Linked DNA regions of Homo sapiens: regions 1, 2 and 3 are each linked to region 4. Evidence: promoter capture Hi-C in 16 types of primary human blood cells and fetal thymus (Javierre and others, 2016). All regions are on one chromosome and are shown on one strand. Each heading gives the region's core, a stretch centred on a gene start or on the middle of the fragment in contact. The rest is flanking DNA. Distances are from core to core; before and after follow the strand shown. Region 1 has its middle 29 kb from the start of APC. Region 2 overlaps STARD4-AS1 (STARD4 antisense RNA 1). Region 3 holds the start of APC (APC regulator of Wnt signaling pathway). Region 4 holds the start of EPB41L4A-AS1 (EPB41L4A antisense RNA 1).

Region 1 (3,539 bases), core at 687-3,186, 550 kb before region 4:
AGACCCAGCAGAGAGCACCAACTGGCATAAAAACTGACCAATATCCTCACATAGCTGTCTCTGATGTCCCTCAGAATTTCAGGGGTCAAACTGGTAAAGCTAGCGAGGCTTATTTAGGATTGGGGACTAGAAAGGTAAGTCTACAGAAAGTGAAGCATTCTAGGCCATCAATAGGAGCTTAGTAAAAGCTGATGATCATGGGATCCTGGTTACACAGGGAGGCAAATGAAATCAGCATTAGGGTAATGGGTTGGAAGAACAGGGAGACAAAGAAGGTTCACAAAGAGAAAGAGAGAGAGAAAGGAAAAAATACCAAATTCCATAAGAGTGGAAGAGTGAGAGGGTTTGTTTGTTTGTTAGGAGACAGGGTCTTACTGTCACCCAGACTGGAGTGCAATGGCACAATCTTGGCTCACTGCAACCTCCACATCCCGGGCTCCAACAATCCTCCTGCCTCAGCCTCCCAAGTAGCTGGAATCACAGGCATGCACCACCATGCCTGGCTTATTTTTGTATTTTTTTTTGTACAGATGAGGCTTTGCCATGTTGCCTAGGCTGGTCTCGAACTCCTGGACTCATGCGATCCATGCGCTTTGGCCTCTCCCAAAGTGCTGGAATTACAGGCATGAGCCACCACACCCTGCCAAAGTGAGAGGTTTTAAAGAGTTTGTGGTCAGATGTTTTTTGATACAGAGCTACAAATCATTTTGCCAGAAGCAGTGAGCCACTGATTGGGGCTCAGCAACCCCTGCTTTGCTACTGCCCCTTCAAACTGTATGCAGAGAATTCAGAGACAACCAGCTCTAAAAACACACAGGCTCTGGTTCCAGAAAAGTGAAGGCTAGCAACGAATGAACTAGCCCATACAAGAAGCAAACATAAAAATATTCCTCCTTCTTTTAAGCTGAACAATTCTATCTCTAAATTTTAAAAATGCATTAAAAGGTCAAAAGTCCACAGTAAAGGGAAAAATAGATTATGTGTTATGAGACAGAATGAAAAGTAAACAAATCTGCCAGGCTATTTATAACCCACACGTTAAAAATTTTTAACATACAATTCTAATACAGCAGGCATAGTTTGTGCTTAACAACTTTGGAGAACATCTAGCATAACTTCAAGAAAACGATATTGCTCAATTTAATGTTAATAAAAAAGGTCCACCCATTTGCAATTTCAAAGGGCAAGCTATCATTTATATTTTTAATCTCACTTCTACAATTTTGGGGCTCTTGACACGTTATCCAACCCTTCCATCCAGGGAAAGATGGAAAAATTAGCCATGGCAACTTCCTCCACTACCGCTTTGATCCCACATTTTGCACTTAGACTCTGGCAAGGTACTACGTTATTTAGGACAGTTTTTTACACCAGTAATTCTGACTACCCTTGCTCCACTAATAAAGGAGGGAGTACTGAGACTGGCACAAGACTAAATCATATAGAAAATATCAAGTACTCCTAAGGAGGGTTGAACAGTAACAACAATCGAGAATACAAGCAATTTAAGAAGTTTTGAACTTAAAAAGCTTTTCTCCATTTTAGTCCTTTCTAAATAGAAACAAAGGGCTTGTACAACATGGAATTCTAAGACGTCAGTAGGCAATTTAAGCTAACACTGAATAAAAGAATAAATCACTTATCCTTGCTTGTACCATTAAGTGATGTCTTACATGTACTGCATAAGGTCTTCTTTTTTAAAACGAATATAACAGTTTCCAATTCTTTCACTAGATCTAGAAAGCTCACGCCCCCACCTCAACAGTTCAGAGACCAAAGATTTCCTACAGCCGAAAAAAATGAATGATTTAGATGAACAATCATTTGCCAACAGAGGCACCATTCCTCTACTTGGTGGGTCAAGGAGTCAGACTCTGACCTAACCATCCAAGGCTCCTGGGGACTTGATTCTCCCATCAAAGTGAACAAAATTCACCGGCCTTTGGATAACAGCCCTTTCTTTGTAACTCCACATGCCGGGCTATCAGGTATTTTCCCAGGCAGAGAGTTTAAAACTTTTAGAGGAAGCAAGAGGGTCCAAACGAGGAAGATGGGGAAGCGACTAAAATGGGAAGGGCGGACGACCCACCCACCTAACGCGAATGGGGCACCACTTGCAGGGGCGAAGCTCCAGCAGCAGCCAGGAAAGGTGGAGGACGGCGGGCGTCGCGACCCCCATCCACTGCGTGAGAATGGAGGACCTGCAAAGCCAGGGGCCAACTGGAGGCCTGAATGGGGAGTGCGGGGAGGGGAGAGGGTGAGACATGGAGAGAAGAGAGCCACAGAGTCGGGCCGAGCACCGTAGGGTCCCGAGCAGCGGCGGGGCAAAGCCGAGGAAGCTTTGCCGGGAGGAGACGTCAATGCCTGCAGCCTCACTCACCTGCCAGACGCTCGCCCAGTGGCCAGAAGTACGAGCGCCGCCCGGGCTCTTCGTCTCCTGCCGGACGCAGCTCCTGCTGCCGCCGGTGCTCCAGGACCCGAGAACTGAGGGTGGTACAGAAGCGGGCAAAGGGGCGACCGGACCCGAGCCCAGGGAGGCGTACATAGGGGGCGCCGAGGCCCGAGAAGGCAACTGAGTGCTTCACCTTCCTCACCAACAGCCAACAACAGTACCTGGGAACAGCATCGAGCCAACCTCGGTCCGCAGCTCCCGGGCCTGAGCCCGCAGGTCCCCCCCGAGCAGCGGCTAGGCTTCCGGCGGCCACACCCCGCCCCCTTGCTACTTGCCCTCCGCCATCTTGTGGGAGGTGGGAAGACTACAATGCGCATGCGTGAGAGGTGTTGCTGGCTTCCCACAGCCCGGAGACTAGAGCCTGTTATGCGCAGGCGCAATGGGTGCTGCGCTCCGCTTGCCGGGCACTGCTTCGCTGTTCTGTCCCGTGAGCCATTGCTGCCTAGGCAGCCGAGTCTCAGTTGCAGCACTTACTGGCCTTCTCTGAATTGTGCTGCAGCCCAGTTAATAGATCCTTCTGCACACACTAGTCCATTATTCCGCAAACATCTATCGAGTGCTCACTATTTGCTACTCCCCGTACTAGACGCTGATGATAGAAAGATGAATAAAATTCTGTCCCAGCCCCACAAGGGCTCATAAGATAGCGGAGAAACGGAGATGAGCAAGTTATTATTTTGTAGCTGCGACCTCTGCTTCCCTACCACCTCTCACTACCACCCTGTAGTTTTAATTTAAAAACACCTCTTCCGGGAAATCCTTGTTTGTCTCACACAGTTTGATAAGTTCTTTACCTTGGATTACCTCTTCAGTTTCATTTCATTCAACATTAATTGAACAATATCATTTGGGTTTCCGATATATACTAGATACTGTTTCAGGCTCTAGATTTACAGCAATAGGAAATACAATAAACTCACGGAACTTACATTCTAGTGTGAAAGAATAGACAATAAAAGACAGTCAACAAAAGAATGTTTGATGGTGATAAGGGATAGGAAGAGAGCAAACCACACAGAAAGATGATGGACAGTGAGAGGTGGTGATTAGTGATCTTTCTCCAGAGTTGACATTTAATCTGAAGCCT
Region 2 (3,625 bases), core at 910-3,409, 600 kb after region 4:
AAGATCACAGGAAGCTGGTGTCAGAGAAGGCACCTACAATTTACTTCAGTAGGCAAATAAACTTTTGACTCTTTGAGAGAAATCCATCCTTGAGATCCAAAGCTTACAAGTGAAGTTCAAAATTCAGCTTGTCGTCTATTAACAGTGACAGCATACAGAAGTAATAAACATAAATGAAGAAATATAATTAACCTTATGTGTACAAAGTCTTTTGAGGGAAATTAGGAGAAAGTGTGGCCACATGAAGACAATGTAGGTAAATGTTGTGAGCACTAAAGCATGCCTTTTAGACTGTCAGGTTTTCAGGCAGCCTTATTCAAATACCTGAGTTTGTACTCCCCAAATAAGTTAAACTTTTCATGCCTCTGAGCCCTAATAGGGGAAGTTAAGGACTGTAAATAAGCAGTAATGTTTTTTCTTTGTTTTGCTTTGTGTTAATGTTTGTTTTGCCCAATATTGCCTCTGTGATGGTTCAGTCTGTCCAGTAGAAAAGAAAGCATCTTATAGTTTCCTCCCATTGAACTCATGGTTCTACTGCGCCTTCTGCCCAGAAAAAACTTCCCCTCTAACCTGTTTTGTTTTGTTTTTGTTTTTTCAAATCTAATGACCCTGTGAAGGACAGATCAAGTCCTACCTCTTCTTGAAGCCATCTATAACCATACCAGACAACCGTGTTTTGTTTTGTCTTTGAATTCTTACATTGCTCATTGTCCATCCCACTCTTCTGGCATTGCTTGATTATATAAAGCAAATGCCTAGGCTCATGAAAATTTACCTGAGGATACAGATTAGCAGAAAACTTCATCTAGTATTGTTCTCTATCAGAATGTAATTCCTTAGTCATTTACATTTAATATTTTAATAATATATTAGTTCTAGAATTAAAAATTACTTCATTTTAAGAGGATACTGGGACGATGCAGAGGGGGAAGCACAAGGATTCTATCTTCCCTTGTAGACAACAATTGAACTGGCAGACTCTGTCTGATGTAACTGTTTTGGAACTCTGGAGTCTATCGAAGACTTGAAATTTCCAGGGGAGGGCATGGATGAAAAACTGTAGTCAATTGCAGCTTTTAGCACATTGGCAGCTGTCCATCCCCCACCTCTTAGCCTCATGGCAAGAAGTTGTTTTGTGTTCCTGGAGCAGCATGTAAAGAGTTACCAGGAGCCAGGGTGGGCGTAAAAGGACCCTGTCCTACAAATATCAAGGATATTTCATCACTTATTGCTGCTTCTGATCACAGAGTGGTGAACAAAGAGGTGGAATTTAAAGGGCTGATGCCCTTCCCCCTCTTTATTTTTCTCTTTTTTTCCTTTTGGGAGCCAGACGTTAAAGAATAGGGCATCCAAAAATAACTGCATATATGGGAAAAATTAGCAAGTGACTTCACATGCCCAGAGAAAGGCTCAGAAAAGACATGAGAAGACCTTAAATTTACATCTCAGGCTGATCCTCAGCCCAGAGACAGCCTACAATTTTTAAAAAGCAGTAACAATAACTCAAACCTGGGAAAGAGAAAAACTGATTCTCAGAATTACCAGAATATTAGATTCAAATGTCCAGCTTTTAACAACAAAAAAAACTATAAAACACACAAAGAAACAGGAAACTATTGACCATTCAAAGAGCAACAAATAAGCAACAGAAGCTGCTCCTGAAAGAGAACTACTAGATAAAGACTTTAAAACAATTGTCTTGAAGATGAGCAAGGAACCAAAGGGAGATGTGGAGAAAGTCAAGAAATGAAGTATAAACAAAAGGGAAATATTAATAAACATATACAAAACCTAGAAAGAAACCAAAAAGAAAATTTGAAGCTGAGAAGTACACTAACTAAAATGCAAAATTTGGCAGAGGGATTCAAAGGCAGATTTGATCAGACAGAAGAAAGAAGCAGTAAACTTGAAGAGGACAATGGAAATTATCAAGCCTGAGGAACAGAAAGAAAAAAGATTGAAGAAAAGTGAAGAATCCTCAGGGATCTGTGGGACGCCATCAAACAGACCAACATATACATTGTGTGAGTTCCAGAGGGAGGAAAGAGAGAGAGAAGGGGGCAGAAAGAATATTTGAGGAAGCAATGGCTAATAACTTCCTGAATATGTTGATGTTAATATAAACATCCAAGAAGCTCAATGATGAACTCAAAGAAACTCACACCAAGACACACTATAAACAAACTTACAAAGGACAATGAGAGAGTTTTGAAAGTGACAGAGAAAGGTGGCTAGTCACAAAAAGGGGATCATGAATAAGATTTTCAGAAAATTTCTCATCAGAAACTCTGGAGGCTAGAAGATAGTGGGTCATATAGTCAAAGTGCTAAAAGAAAAAAAAAATCTCTCTGCTAAGAATCCTATTTCTGGCAAAACTGTTGTCCAAAAATGAGGGAAAAATTAAGACATTCCTAGACAAACTAAAGCTGAGAGAATTTATTACCACTAGACCTTCTCTGTAAAAAAAGAAAATGATCAAGGGAGTCCTGCAGGATAAAATAAAAGAACAATGGATGGTAATTCAAAGTCATGTGAAGAAATAAATATCTCAATGAAAGTAAATATGTGAGCAATTAGAAAAGCTAGTATTGTAACAACAGTTTGTAGTTCCACTTTTTTTTACACCATGATTAAAGAGACAAAGCCATTAAAATCAGTTTAAAAATGAGTATTATGGTAACTTCAGTTTCTAATTCCACATTTTGTTTTCTACACAATTTCAGAGACTAATACATTTTTAAAAAACTATTAGTTTATGTTTTGGGGCACACAGTGTATAAAGATGTAATTCTGTGACATCAGCAACTTAAAGAGGTGAGGACAGAGTTGTAAACAAGCAGAGTTTTTATACGTAACTGAAGTTAAAATGGTATAAATTCAAATTAAAGCATATTCACTTTAAGATGTTAAATGTAATCTCCATGGTATGGGAATTTAGACATGAGAAAAATTTAAACACTTCACTATAATATAATAATAAATAGTGAAATATAGAATAATAAAAATAAAATATAAAATAAAAAATAGTGAAATAATAGAAGTCTCTTCTTATCAGTAATCACTCTAAATGTAAATGTACTAAACTTTCCAATAAAAAGACAGCAGTATGGATGAAAACATGTGATCCAACTAAGTGCTGTCTATAAGAAACTCACTTTAGATCCAAAGATACAAATAAAGTGAAAGGATGGAAAATGATATTCTATGGAAATAGTAACAAAAAGAGAGCAGAAGTGGCTACACTAATATCAGACAAAATACACTTTCAATCAAAAAAGATTACAAAACACTGAGAAGGAAATTATATATTCACAAAAATATTAATGCAGTGAGAAGATATAATAATAAAAATTATTTATGCACCTAATAACTACCAAAGTATAGGAAGCAAAAACTGACATAATTGAAGGCAGAAACAGACTGTTCTACAATAATAACTGGAGACTTTATTATGCCACTCTAAATAATGACTAGAACAACCAGATAGAAGACGAGTAAGGAAACAGCAGACTTAACATAATAATAGATATATACAGAATATTTTACCCAACAAAAACAGCACACGTTTCTCCAATGCACATGGGACATTTTAGAGGATACACTGTATGTTTTACCACAGATTAAG
Region 3 (3,231 bases), core at 539-3,038, 580 kb before region 4:
AAAATAATGCTACAATGAGCTGTTAAAATGGTAAAAGGTAATTTATGTAAAAATAATAGTTTTATAGACTCTCAAACACTATGCTAATGGAATTCAAAGAACTGAGTAATATTAGCTGTTAAATGTCATTTGGAATTTTAATGTGACATCTTTAGTTCTAGCCATAGTTTCCATCAGATTTTAAAAAAGAGACTCTAAGTACTTTTTTTTGAGATAGGGTCTTGCTTGGTTGCCCAGGCTGGTCTTGAACGCCAAGGCTCAAGTGATCCTCCTGCCTCAGCTTCCCTCAGCCTCCTGTTTAGCTTGTATTACAGGCATGGGCCACCACGCCCGGCTCCTAAGTACTATTAACCCTGATATCCATGATCAAGTAATTCTTAAAGCAGAAATAATTTTTTAAAGAACTATTTAAATTTATCAGTGAAAAACTTATGTAGTCTTATTTATCTAAGCCAGCCCAATTCCGCATTATCTTGAAAATATTACTGAAACAATATAATAGGTCATCTTAAGACTTTCTATTACATAAACATTATTTAAGAGACACTGTCACTGACCCTGGAGGGCTTTACAAAGCCACTGCCATCCTTGTTCAGGGAGTGGGGAGGTGTGGCAGGCTGGCTACTATAAGTATGCATAAAGATAGGCTTTTACATTTAGGTAAAGGAAAAAAAAGCTCAATGAAAAACACTTTATATCAAGAGTATATCTCATGAGTACTCACTAAACAGAAATACATCTAGAAGAAAAGCCATGTTGCTTTAATTTAAAATATTTGCACACTGAATTAATATCTTAAATATTTATTCAGTGTTATCTAAAAGCAACCAAAGAGAAATATAAAATTACTTAACTATAGGTCTTAAATATTAGGCCTACAAAAATTTGTTCACCATAATTTTTGACAAAGTAATTTACGTTGTAAAGTGGTTTGCTCTTGAATGACCTAATTAATGGCATAAAAGCTTCACTAACAAAAGAAAAGATCCACTGTTTCATACATAATTTATTAAGATTTCGTATAGGATTTATGTTAAATCAAAGAATTTGAGCATCACTTTCGTGATGTAGAATCAAAGTGTCCAATACATTCCAATGACAAAACATTCATAGCCTGACATTATTCCTACTTTAAAAAACAGTAATTTTTTTTCTGCTGTTCAGGCTGCATTTATAAACTATGGCTTCTTGTAAATGGGCTTCTACCCCAGCATTTGCTGCAAGGTTTCTTATTCCTCTGCAGTTGTCTTTTCGGCCTAACAGAGGGAGAAAAAGCACTGCTGCAGTCGTCCGCAAAAAGCCACTACCACTGCATTTTGTAACTAACAAAGACACTGGTATCTGTTTGCCACCCTGTTCACAGGGAGTTTACTTAGATGTTTTACAAAAGCAGGCACACTACTGGTGACCAGTATTTCACCAACCAACACCACCACTCACGCTCTGCAGTACCTGCCTCCTCCTCTTTCTCTCATCCCCAGTAGCTCTTTCCACTAGATTCACATCAGCCATCTGCAGCGGTTTTGTCTCCTCTCTCTTTTGGCCACCAATGCATGTGTCCTTGTCGCCAGGGAGGAAAAGAAGCCTTTCAATGGGGTAGAGCTTTTGCTCCTCGCCATGAATATGCTCCATTCTTTGTTGTCCTCTACCCGTTTCCTTAGATACTGTTATTCCACTCTGTCAAATGGCATTATAAAAACAAAAACCCCTTCTGGCTTCAAAAACAGCTTTTCTCAGCAGACTCCCCTTAACACTTCTACCCCTCCCCCTTCTTCCTCTTCTGTCAAAAACCCTGGATCCGAAGTACAGGAAATCCATCTCCAGTGCTGCAGTGGGGGGCGGGGGGACGACGCCCCTGCCTCCTCGTTTGGCATGCTGCAGTGGACCCTGTGCCAAGGAAAGGCCATCGGTTTAAGACAGTGCGAGGGAAAACCACCTTCCCCCCTCCCCCCGCAGCAAGCCTGGCCATGGTGGCTCCAGCACCTACCCCATTTCCGAGTCCGGCAGCACCTCCATTCTGTCTCCAGTGACACCCTGGCGGGCTGCACCAATACAGCCACATGTCGGTCACGTGCGCCCACACCCAGCCAATCGGCGGGCTCCCGACGGGAATGGGGAGCGCCCTGGTCCGCATCCAGCGGATTACACAGCTGCTTCTCTCTCCGCTTCCCGACCCGCACTCCGCAGTGGGGCACAGGGCCCCGCCCAACCGCACAGCCTGCCTAGCCCTAGCCCCGTACCCCTCGGGGGTATGCCCTCGCGGCCCCAGTCCCCAGCAAGCAAGGAAGTTGATGGCAGTTGACACGCATAGTAAAGAGTCGGGGGAGGTCCGCAGGGCAGAAGGATTAGCACAAGATGCCGGAGGTGGGAGGGAGAGTAATAAATTACATCTCGATTGCTATGATTTTTGCAGCACAGAGAAACAATAATATTAAATGAATTACAATGAATAATTTTACATTACAAGTCACTGAGTTGTCAGAGTGATGACTTGTTAGATAGATCACTCGAATTATATTTGAATTAAAAATAGTTACCAGAAAAGCTATGCTAGCAGCTTAGTAGTGGAGATCAGAACTCTGGAAGTCTGGGTTGCCTGAGTTGAAGCTTTACTCCTGTCACTCTAGCTCTGTAACTTTAGTTACTTAACCTCTCAGTGTTTCAATTTCCTGCTGTATAAAACGGGAACAGAAGTACAGAATAGAGGAGTTAATATATATGAAGTATTTAGAGCAGTCCCTGACACATACATAGAAGTGCTGTTAGCTACTACAAATCTGAGGCTTTAATGTAGTATTTTAATGCAAATTCTACATTGCATTTAAATCGAACCAGGTGATGCTTAAATTCCCAATTTTATGAGGTTGAAGGACAAAATCCAAACTGTCAAGAATATATAAAGTTAAACTTAAATTCTGGTTTAAATGGGGGGAAACCAGTTTCTATTATCTATTTAAAATTTAAAAGGATACTATACTTCAAGTTTTCTTTGTTTGTTTTTTGAGATAGAGTCTTGCTCTGTCACCAGGCGAGTGCAGTGGTGCAATCTCCGCTCACTGCAACCTCCACCTCCCGGGTTCAAGCGATTCTCCTGCCTCAGCCTCCCAAGTAGCTGGGACTACAGGCACGTGCCATCATGCCCAGCTAAGTTTTGTATTTTTAGTAGAGACGGGGTTTCACCATGCTGGCCAGGATGGTCTCAATCTCCTGACCTTGTGATCCGCCCACCTC
Region 4 (2,500 bases), core at 1-2,500:
CTTCAGGTCACCTTTATGCTCCCAGATGGTATTCAGCTAGCAGCAGTCTACACTTCAGGCATCCATCTTCCACCTGAACAAAAATTAGAACTGGCTAAGAGAAACCATACACTTAAGGCTAGCAGGGTCAAGATCACGCGTGGAAACGTAAAAGCAGCAACTGTTACTTATGCAGCTCCTACACCAAAGGTATCAAATTTAAGGGCAGGAAAAGGCTGCAAAGCGTTTAATTTACGCCTTTTTTGACACCACATTCACTAGTTTCCAAAGTGAATGGGCAACACAAAGGCTGACACTGCGTGAGGTAGGCTTTATGGCATAAGGTTGCTGACTGGCTGACAGTAATGCCGATTACAGCCTAAAAACGGACAATACATTTCAGAGAAATTTTCTCACGATTTAAAATCCGACTTAATAATGAAAAGTGAAATGCGATGCGTTTTAAATGGCGACTGGTCTTGCACGAACGTGAAAACTCACCTGTAGGGTAGGTGATCACTCCCGACGAGCACCGCACGTGGAAACAGCTGTAACCAGGCACGCTGCTTTTAAGTTATTTTATACGGGGGCAGGGCAAGCATAAAGTCAGTTATACGGTAAGGCCTTTTCACTGACGAAAATAAAACCAGGCTTATCTGGAGAACTCCCTGGCATAGTCGATGATGTAAACACAAATCGACGAAGCTCCCCGTTTCCAAACGTGGGAACGCAGGCCTGAGGCCAGGCCGCTGCCCTTGTTCACGGCCCCGGACACTTCGGACACAGGCCGCCGCAGTCGACTCACCAGACTCAGGGTGGCCGCGTTCCCCCGCCCGGCGCCCCTGCGTGAGAGACCACGCGGCCACAGCCAGGCGCCATCCCAGAGGACCCAGAGCAAAAACCACAGCAAGCTCGCACCAAAAGGAAGAAAGGACAGGCTTCCGTCCCACAATGCTTTTCTACAAGTGGAAGGACCCACTGTCCGAGAGCGCGAGGGGGGAGCGGGCTGTACCATCGGCCGCTGCGCTATGGCGAGACGCCGCCGTGTGGCCGGAGGGAGAAGTGCCAGTGAGGGACCGAGGGGCGTGTCACCAAAGGGAGGAGGAGCCTGGGTTCTCAGCCCGAGTCACCTCTGCGGATGTGTGGCCAGTTCTTTCCACAGAGGAGGTATCCAGACATCCCCCCACCCGACCAGGGTCAAGAGCATATGATCAGTGCTGGCAGCGGCAGGAGCCCAAAGGACTTTAGACCACGTATTTTGGGACCCGACAGAATTCATGAGTCCAGCTGAGGAAGAGTAGAGTCATTCATTCGAAAGATATTTAGTCAGCACTTACTATGCTCCAGGCCCTGGCCTGAGTGCCTGGGAATCAGGTGTGGGTGAGCCAGGCAAGGTTTCTGTGGTACATTCTGCTTGGGTGAGTAGGCCACTGACCAAGTGAGCCCGGATGCTGAAATTCTACAATGTAAGTGCCAGGAGGGCAGCAAAAGAGGGTCATGCCATAGGGTAGCGCTGTCCGATGGAAACAGTGTGAGCCATGAGTGTAATTTTAAATTTTCCAATTGCCACATAAAATGTGAAAAGAACGCCGGGCGCGGTGGCTCATGCCTGTAATCCCAGCACTTTGGCAGGCTGAGGCAGGTGATCACCTGAAGTCAGGAGTTCAAGACCAGCCTGGCCAACATGGCAAAACCCCGTCTCTACTAAAAATACAAAAATTACTTGGGCTTGGTGGCGGGCGTCTATAATCCCAGCTACTTGGGAGGCTGAGGCAGGAGAAATGGCTTGAACCCGGGCGGGGTGGGGGTGGAGGTTGCGGTGAGCCGAGATCATGCCACTTGACTCCAGCCTGGACAAAAGGGCGAAACTCCGTCTCAAAAAAAAAAAAAAAAAAGTAAAAAGAAACAGATCAAATTAATTTTAATAATAACCCAACATATTTTAAATATTTCAACAGGCAATCAATATGAGATTATTAATAAGATATTTCTTTTATATCTACTAAGTCATAAAAATCCGGTGTATATTTTATACTTCCAGCACATTTCCGTTCAGACTAGACACATTTCAAGTGTTCAGTAGCTCATGGGGCTAGGAATAGGAAGACTGGAAGTGAACTCCGAGCAGATGTGTGAAGGCGGTTATGCAAGATCTGGAGACAGCAGGCCTTGGCCAGTGTGGCTGGAGTCGAGTAAGGAGTGTAGAGTGACAAGATGCAGCTGGAGAGCCAGGCAGGAGCAAGGCACTTAGGGTCTTGTCACACAGGGCAAGGTGTTGGGATTTTATGCTGAAATCTTAGAGTTGATTAATTATCACCACAAAAATTAAGCAGAGTTTGTTAATTGGCTTTTTTCCTGATAACCATAACTCCTTGAAGGGACAGGACAAGTGGCAGCAAGACAAGTTGTATGATAACAACTAGGTCTCCATGTTTCTCTAAGTCCTAGCAGAGATTCATCCAGAGACCAGTTTTAGCACCTTTCGTTGTTTCTTTGAAGCCTACTTCTATAAAAGAAAGAA

The links. Contacts are between HindIII fragments. The CHiCAGO score rates a contact against its expected background, and 5 or more counts as called.
Region 1: a fragment that was not itself captured here is called in contact with the fragment with the promoter of EPB41L4A-AS1 in region 4 in 1 of 17 cell types (total CD8 T cells); the score reaches 5.1 in total CD8 T cells.
Region 2: a fragment that was not itself captured here is called in contact with the fragment with the promoter of EPB41L4A-AS1 in region 4 in 10 of 17 cell types (monocytes, naive B cells, megakaryocytes and 7 more); the score reaches 11.2 in monocytes.
Region 3: a fragment that was not itself captured here is called in contact with the fragment with the promoter of EPB41L4A-AS1 in region 4 in 1 of 17 cell types (total B cells); the score reaches 6.3 in total B cells.

Annotation. Positions count from the first base shown.
Region 1 is chr5:112,706,724-112,710,262 of GRCh38, reverse strand. It overlaps a transcript of APC not described here. Among named protein-coding and RNA genes, the nearest start is that of APC, 29 kb to the left of the region's middle. RefSeq lists an enhancer at 2,726-2,785. The HindIII fragment of the contact is 810 bases long and covers 1,532-2,341 here.
Region 2 is chr5:111,558,669-111,562,293 of GRCh38, reverse strand. All of the region lies in intron 1 of STARD4-AS1 (STARD4 antisense RNA 1), which reads right to left. Among named protein-coding and RNA genes, the nearest start is that of STARD4, 48 kb to the right of the region's middle. The HindIII fragment of the contact is 4,109 bases long and covers 105-3,625 here.
Region 3 is chr5:112,736,682-112,739,912 of GRCh38, reverse strand. APC (APC regulator of Wnt signaling pathway) reads right to left here and starts at 2,028. Exons shown (of 16, transcript NM_000038.6): 1 at 1,988-2,028. The HindIII fragment of the contact is 1,642 bases long and covers 968-2,609 here.
Region 4 is chr5:112,159,276-112,161,775 of GRCh38, reverse strand. It overlaps EPB41L4A-AS1 (EPB41L4A antisense RNA 1), which reads right to left and starts at 1,250. Exons shown (of 3, transcript NR_015370.2): 1 at 481-1,250; 2 at 1-73. SNORA13 (small nucleolar RNA, H/ACA box 13) reads right to left here and starts at 291; the gene lies at 159-291. It also overlaps a transcript of EPB41L4A not described here. RefSeq lists enhancers at 446-495, 606-655, 676-775, 551-1,283, 1,156-1,365 and 1 more. The HindIII fragment of the contact is 7,805 bases long and covers 1-2,500 here.